Linked DNA regions of Homo sapiens: region 1 is linked to region 2. Evidence: promoter capture Hi-C in human tissues and cell types (Jung and others, 2019). All regions are on one chromosome and are shown on one strand. Each heading gives the region's core, a stretch centred on a gene start or on the middle of the fragment in contact. The rest is flanking DNA. Distances are from core to core; before and after follow the strand shown. Region 1 overlaps SEC24D (SEC24 homolog D, COPII component). Region 2 holds the start of USP53 (ubiquitin specific peptidase 53).

The links. Contacts are between HindIII fragments. The study calls those that stand out against the background at their distance.
Region 1: a fragment that was not itself captured here is called in contact with the fragment with the promoter of USP53 in region 2 in 1 of the 25 tissues and cell types used here (aorta).

The regions. Positions count from the first base shown.
Region 1 is chr4:118,780,775-118,784,907 of GRCh38, reverse strand. The region is part of intron 8 of SEC24D (SEC24 homolog D, COPII component); the gene reads left to right. Among named protein-coding and RNA genes, the nearest start is that of SEC24D, 53 kb to the left of the region's middle. The HindIII fragment of the contact is 4,654 bases long and covers 1-4,133 here.
Region 2 is chr4:119,210,019-119,213,962 of GRCh38, reverse strand. USP53 (ubiquitin specific peptidase 53) reads right to left here and starts at 1,250. Exons shown (of 19, transcript NM_001371395.1): 1 at 1,090-1,250. It overlaps LOC101929762 (a long non-coding RNA gene), which reads left to right and starts at 1,319. Exons shown (of 3, transcript NR_125931.1): 1 at 1,319-1,436. RefSeq lists enhancers at 856-905, 611-1,184, 1,516-1,635, 1,758-2,332, 3,488-3,944 and a silencer at 1,256-1,385. The HindIII fragment of the contact is 17,898 bases long and covers 1-3,944 here.

The sequences.
Region 1 (4,133 bases), core at 920-3,419, 430 kb after region 2:
CAATTTCATAAGGAATTTCCAGAACAGTAAAATTCTACATAAAGTTTAGCTTAGGTTTCACTATTATTCTCCCCCCACTCCAGTGTTTCTCTCAATATCATCTCACAGAGGAAGGTATGTAGTATTTGTGAGTGTGTGTTTGTGTGTATTTGGTGGCGGGGGGGGGGGCAGGGAAGGATGTTATGAGCAGTACCTGTAACAAAAAAGAGGATTTAAAAATCTTTAAAATATTATTTGTTGTTTGGGAAAATAAAACCACCATTTACTTTCTTGAAAAATATTTCTGTAAAATGCAGGTAAAATAGAAGAGCCATAATTATTAAATCTAGTGTTTGTAGGTATCCTGGAGTTCATCTACCACAAAGATCACTTTCCTTTATCCTAAACTGTAAATTAAAGTACATTGTTGTCTTAACATGGAATGAGATTTAAGTTTTTTGGGGTTTACTACATCCCATACTTCCTTGTCCTCTATAGTTTGAAAAGTTTTGAAAAATTCTTTAAATAGTTCAAACATAATTTTGTCTATATTTCTTCTTTCTTACAGAAAAGCATAGAAAATGTTTCATATTTATCAACTTTTATTTTGATAACAAGTCATCTTTCCTCTTATTTCAGTTTATTGATATAGAATAAATATATAAATGTATTTATTTCTCTAAATGCTTTTGAATTGATCATCTGTTTTTTAAATTAAATTTTTTTCTCAACTTTTTAAATTCCTGTTTTCAAAAATGCTCTCCTTCAAATGATTTTTGGCTGTGTGCCCAAATCAAATTAACTCACCAAAGATGATTTGCTGTATTACTGGAAGTAGCCCAGTCGGAGCACAGGGGATGGTTAGTCACCAGTGTTTTCTTCTGTTTAAATAGAGACAAGGTTTCGCCATGTTGGCCAGGCTGGTCTTGATCTCCTGAGCTCAAGTGATCTGCCCGCCTCAGCCTCCCAAATTGCTCGTATTACAGGCATGAACCACTATGCCTGGCCAGTCTTCAGTGTTTACGTCAATAGCAGATTGAACTGTGTGACCTTTAGAGCCCTATATTTTTTTCCACTCTGAAAGGAATTTGTAGAAAAAGTTTTAGACATATTTGGACAAATGCATAGCTTCCATAGGTGTCTACTCTAAAGGGAATTGATCATTTGGTTTGAGTTCTCTTAAGCTTCTTTACAGAAACAGTTTTATACTTGTATTTATACTTGTATAATCACTCCTGGGATTTTAGTGATGTTTTCAGTCATCTCATATACCATAATCTGGACAATAATCCATTGTTATTTGATATGATAATTTATAAACTATGACCATTTTATGAAAAACTTTATGTCACCTTATTTCAAAAAGAATTTAAGAATAACCAATTCAATTCAATGAATACTCATTGTTCTCCCAGTATGTGCTGGATACTGTTCTTGGCACTTGAGATATGTCAGTGAACAGAGCAGACAAAGATCTCTGCCCTCATGGAGCTTACATTCTAATGGAGACTAGACAGTGAACCTGGTAAGAAGGTTATCTAGGTCTATGGAGGAAGGAAAAAGTAGAGCAGACTTGGGGGATAACGTCTGCCTGGGAGGAGGTGGAGTATGGGTTTTGTAGGTTAAATAGGGTATTCAGGGCAGGCCTGATTGAGAAAGTGTCATTTAAATTCAGACCCTCAGGGGTCTGTTCCAAGATGGTCGAATAGGAACAGCTCCCGTCTGCAGCTCTGAGCGTGATTGACGCAGAAGACGGGTGATTTCTGCATTTCCAACTGAGGTACCTGGTTCATCTCATTAGGACTGGTTGGACAGTGGGTGCAGCCCACAGAGGGTGAGCCAAAGCAGGGCGGGGCGTCGCCTCACCCGGGAAGCCCAAGGGGTCAGGGGATTTCCCTTTCCTAGCCAAGGGAAGCCGTGACAGACTGTACCTGGAGAAAACGGAACATCCCCACCAAAATACTGCGCTTTTCCAATGGTCTTAGCAAATGGTACACCAGGAGATTATATCCCATGCCTGACTCGGTGGGTCCCACACCCAAGGAGTCTTGCTCACGGCTAGTGCAGCAGTCTGAGATCAACCTGTGAGGCAGCAGCCTGGCAGGGGGGAGGGTTGTACCCCATTGCTGAGGCTTGAGTAGGTAAACAAACCAGCCAGGGAAGCTCAAACTGGGCGGAGCCCACCACAGCTCAGCAAGGCCTGCTGCCTCTGTTGACTCCACCTCTGGGTCCAGGGCATAGCTGAACAAAAGGCAGCAGAAACTTCTGCAGACTTAAACATCCCTGTCTGACAGCTCTGAAGAGAGTAGTGGTTCTCCCTGCACGGTGTTTGAGCTCTGAGAACGGACAGACTGCCTCCTCATGTGGGTCCCTGACCCCCATGTAGCCTAACTGGGGAGACACCTACTGGGACTGACTGACACCTCATACAGGTGGGTGCCCCCTGGGACGAAGCTTCCAGAGGAAGGATCAGGCAGCAATATTTGCTGTTCTGCAATATTTGCTGTTCTGGAGCCTCTGCTGGTGATACCCAGGCAAACAGGGTCTGGAGTGGACCTCCAGCAAACTCCAACAGCCCTGCTGCTGAGGGACCTGTTAGAAGGAAGACTAACAAACAGAAAGGAATAGCATCAACATCAACAAAAAGGACATCCACACCAAAACCCCATTTGTAGGTCACCAACATCAAAGACCAAAGGTAGATAAAACCACAAAGATGGGGAGAAACCAGAGCAGAAAAGCTGAAAATTCTAAAAATCAGAGTGCCTCTTCTCCTTCAAAGGATTGCAGCTCCTTGCCAACAATGGAACAAAGCTAGATGGAGAATGACTTTGACGAATTGACAGAAGTAGGCTTTAGGAGGTCAGTAATAACAAACTTCTCCAAGCTAAAGGAAGACGATCAAACCCATCGCAAGGAAGCTAAAAACCTTGAAAAAACATTAGACGAATGGCTAACTAGAATAAACAGTGAAGAGAAGACCTTAAATGACCTGATGGAGCTGAAAACCATGGTGCGAAAACTACGTGACGCATGCACAAGCTTCAGTAGCCGATTCCTTCAAGTGGAAGAAAGGGTATCAGTGATCGAAGATCAAATTAATGAAATAAAGTGAGAAGTTTGGAGAAAAAAGAGTAAAAAGAAATGAACAAAGCCTCCAAGAAATATGGGACTATGTGAAAAGACCAAATCTGTGTTTGATTGGTGTACCTGAAAATGACATGGAGAATGGAACCAAGTTGGAAAACACTCTTCAGAACATTATCCAGGAGAACTTCCCCAACCTAGCAAGACAGGCTAACATTCAAATTCAGGAAATACAGAGACCACCACAAAGATACTCCTCGAGAAGAGTAACCCCAAGACACATAATTGCCAGAATCACCAAGGCTGAAATGAAGGAAAAAATGTTAAGGGCAGCCAGAGAGAAAGGTCGGGTTACCCACAAAGGGAAGCCCATCAGACTAACAGCGGACCTCTAGGCAAAAACTCTACAAGCCAGAAGAGAGTGGGGGCCAATATTCAACATTCTTAAAGAAAAGAATTTTCAACCCAGAATTTCATATCCAGCCAAACTAAGCTTCATAAGTGAAGGAGAAATAAAATACTTTACAGACAAGCAAATGCTGAGAAATTTTGTCACCACCAGGCCTGCCCTAAAAGAGCTCCTGAAGGAAGCACTAAACATGGAAAGGGACAACAGATACCAGCCACTGCAAAAACATGCCAAATTGTAAAGACCGTCAATGCTAGGAAGAAACTGCATCAACTAACGGGCAAAATAACCAGCTAACATCATAACGTCAGGATGAAATTCACACATAACAGTATTAACCTTAAATGTAAATGACACAATTAAAAGACACAGACTGGCAAATTAGATAAAGAGTCAAGACCCATCAGTGTGCTGTATTCAGGAGACCCATTTCACATGCAGAGACACACATAGGCTCAAAATAAAGGGATGGAGGAAGATCTACCAAGCAAATGGAAAGCAAAAAAAAAAAAAAAAAAAAAAAAAGCAGGGGTTGCAATCCTAGTCTCTGATAAAACAGACTTTAAAACAACAAAGATCAAAAGGGACAAGGCCATTGCATAATGGTAAAGGGATCAATTCAACAAGAAGACCTAACTATCCTAAATATATATGCATC
Region 2 (3,944 bases), core at 1-2,500:
CCTTTTCTTTTAATAACTAAAAGTGAATCAGATCTTAATCACAAAAACCTTCCTAAGTGTACTGCGTTTTTTTGTTTGTTTGTTTGTTTTTTGGAGACGGAGTCTGGCTCTGTCGCCCCTGCTGGAATGCAGTGGCGCGATCTCGGCTCACTGCAACCTCCGGTTCAAGCAATTCTCCTGCCTCAGCCTCCCGAGTAGCTGGGACTACAGGTTAAGTTTACTATTAAACCTACCTCAAAAATAGCCTTAGATATTCTTTGCAAATATATATATTTATACATACATACATACACACACACACATATATATATATATATATATCTATTTCCAGATAAGGAAACTTTCGGAAAACTTTGCTGTCCAACTGGTAATTCCCTGCATACTTTGCATTGATAAAGAAAACCTTGTAGCAGGGTTACAAACCTCAAAACATCCTCAGATTGCAGGTTTTAGAAACCCTCCCTATTACACCTGTGCAAGTACTTCCTGTTCTCCAACACTGTTTAAAAATAGTTTGGTAAATGCCCCGTAAGCCGCCCTTTAGAAGCTAAACATTAACTTTATATACATCACCACTACCACTGAGAAACCACCACCCCAAGAATCTCACGAGTCCAGTCATCTCTCTTCTCCAAGGAGGGAGCATAACCATCCTGGACCCCTTTAAGTAAAAAACTGTGTGCTCAGGCGAGGCAATGTGGCTTGGACAGCCAGGGGCAGGAGCCAAGTAAGGGTATTACTCACAATCCCAGCAGGACTCCAGCTTGTCGCCGCCCTCAAACACGGCAGCAATAACATCCAGGACCCAACAAGTACAGCACCTCCTCCCGCCTCGCGAGCGCCTCCAGCCTGGCCAGAGGCATCTCCGCCAGACGCGGCGAGAAGGGGCGAAAGGGCTGCGTGACCTCTGGCGTCTGAACCGCCCAGCAAAGAGAGTGTGTGTGTGCCCAGAGGGCCGGGGCCATAGGAGGTCGCCGGGCTGCGAGGGGAGAGACGAGCTCTGGGGCTAGAATGAGAGTGTCCCGGTCAGGCCCGCGGGGGTCGCAGGTCTCTGGATCTCCAACCAGAGGGCTAGTTTCGGAGACTTACCTTGAGCTCTACCCTCCTTGCGCGAGGAGCGTGCGGTCCAGGTAGAGAAATACAGGCCTTCCACTCCCACAGAGCTACCTCCCGCTGGCCCAGCCCCGCTTCACGCCGACACCCGCCAGACACACTGACTGCTGCCACAGTACCGAGGCTCACCGGGAACTGGAGCACAGGCGGCTGGTCTCCGCCGCCCAGAGCCCGACCCTGTGAGCGGAGCATGCGCATACGCCCCAATACCCAGGGACCAGTCAGGCCAGTGACACCTGCGATCAACAGGTCCCTGGAGCCCCGCCCCTCTCCCCGCCTCGAGCCCGCCCCTCGGAGCGGGCTCCGCCTTCACGCTCACCGAGGTAACTCCGCCTCCGCTCGCGATTTCCCGGCTTTCTGGACCTGCGGAATTCTATTCCCGCGGGGATTTGATGGCGTGCGCGATACAGTTGGCTTCCTCGGAGGCGCGAGATCGCGCGAGACCAAGAGATAGAACATTTCTGCAAAAGCGGCAGCTTGGCGCTGGAGTTTGGTTGTTGGGGGAAAGGTGGTTGTAGGACGTGCTGTCTGGTGTGGTGAGAAAGAGGCTAGTTCTTCAGGAGGAGGCGATTATTCTGGTGCTCTTGGTAGTTCATTCGGTATTTTCTAAGCTCAAGAACGCGGATCCACCAAGGACTTCACTTAGGTTAGGTGTTACCTGAGAGAACAATCCGTAGTTTGGCATCAGAACCCCATGCGGACACGCAGTTTCCTTTAGATTTCCGTGAGTCGTTAGACGATCTATTTGCAGTTAAATGGCTTCCTGTGGCGTGAATGTGTATTCCCCAAGCAGTTGTTTCTTGCCTTTAATTAGATAGCTTTAATAAGTCTGTTGACCTGGTTAATGATTGTCAGAAAAGTCTGTCCGCCTCTTTGCCGTGCTTTCGAACAGGTTTTAAGTTAAAAGGTACTGCTGGGAATTGGGCTAAACTTTGATTTTGAATAAACCTTTCTTAGGAATAGTAGTAAAGGAAAAACCCATCGTCACTGATACCGAATATCTCTCAAGTAAATAAAGAAGGTTTTGGAACTCATTCCAAAGCTGGTGTAAGTTGAACATACTAATTGTAAAAATGGATTTCAGTAAACCCAGAGGCACTTCTAAAAGTTTATTTGAAGAAAGAGGGGGAAGAAATATTGGTCGTTGATACAGGAGACAAATAGGACCCGTTTGTAATGTCTGAGGCTGAATCATTAAGAATTTATTGAGCATTTACTATGTTCCCTTTACTGAACTAGGCACTGTCAGAAATAGGATGAAATAAAGCCGTGGTTTCTGCCCTCAAAATATTAAAAACTTTGGGAGGGGTGGGGGAAAAAAAGATCCTACTCTGCATTTTTAAAACAATAAGAGCACACCATTAACTCTTCCCTCCGTTTCTCTAATGTCATTTTCTCCTCATTCTGCAGCTACTTTTCTGGTGCACTTTAAATACTGTTTTTCCGCTGCGTGGTCTCTGTTCGCCAGCACTCCATTTTCTTTTGCTGTTTCTGTTTAATGTTAATCCATGTCTCCTTGAGCAGTCTCTTTCCCATCATGGATTTACCTACCACGTGTCCTGTGCACCAAGAACTCTCAGGTGTATATCTATACGTCGGACATTTTTAAGCAACATCCTTTGGATTTCACACAGTATCTTAAATATGTCCCAAATTGACATGGACATCTTTACTATAATCTGTTCCTGATGCCATGTCCCTCTTCACCCATCTGGAACCTACACCATTTCCATTCCCTGTTTCAGAAAATGACACGCAACTGCCCAAGTCAGAAATCTATGAGTACCCCTGTTACTTTTCCTTCATTTCCTCTTTTCTAATATCAAATTTTGACTCTTATTTCCTTAAGTATCTCTCAGGTCCACCCCTCCACTCTCACTGTCTTAGTCCTTCAAGTAATCACCATCTCTTATGACTCATCTTCCTTGTACTATTGCAATATTCACAAGATATCCTCTAGTTATTTCCCACACCAGTCCAACCTCCATTCTATTAATAATTTTTCTAACGTGAAAATACGATCATTATACTTCTCTGCTAAGAATTTTTCATTACCCACCGGCAGGGCCTTTCATGATCACACTGTTAAACTCATCGCCATTCTTCCTCCAGTTCCTCCACATTAATCTTTCTAAAGTCCTTGCTTTCTATGTTCTTGGTTCTCTCAAGATCCTTTGGTTCTCTCTCGAATGCTTATCTCCATGGATCTTTTCATAACTTTCTGAGACAAAATTGTCATCCCTTTTGGGACTTATTTTTATAACAATTATGTTGTACTATATTTATTTCTCTGCAAATGTACCTGACAGAGTAACCCCCACCTCCACCCTTGAGAAATAATTTGAACTGTGGATAATAATGGCTTATACTACCTCCCTTCCTTATTTAGCAATTACAGAAGAATACCCTTCAGTTCACCCTGCTCAAGAATTTGACTAAACCCTGACTATACACTTTTAAAATTATATAATTTCATACTTTCTACCAGTTTTTAGCATATCTATGTACCGATCCTTAAATGGTAGAGTTGTAATAGGACCCAATTTAAGCATCAAGAGGGCAGAGTCTGAAGCAAACATGAAAAAATGGAAAATTGACATTGCAGGACAGCTGTTGCTCCCAGAAAATTTGTAATTGGGAAAGTCACAACAAGGATTTAAAATATTTTAATTCTTACTATTTGTCCTTGAGGGACGTGTGTGGGTTTGATTCCCTAGTTTCTGATTGGCTGGACCCAAATTTGTGAAGACCAATCTCTGCACCTCACACAGGCAAAGAGATCATGAAAGGGAGCAGGCTTGGCATGCCAAAGAATACCCTAGATCATTCAG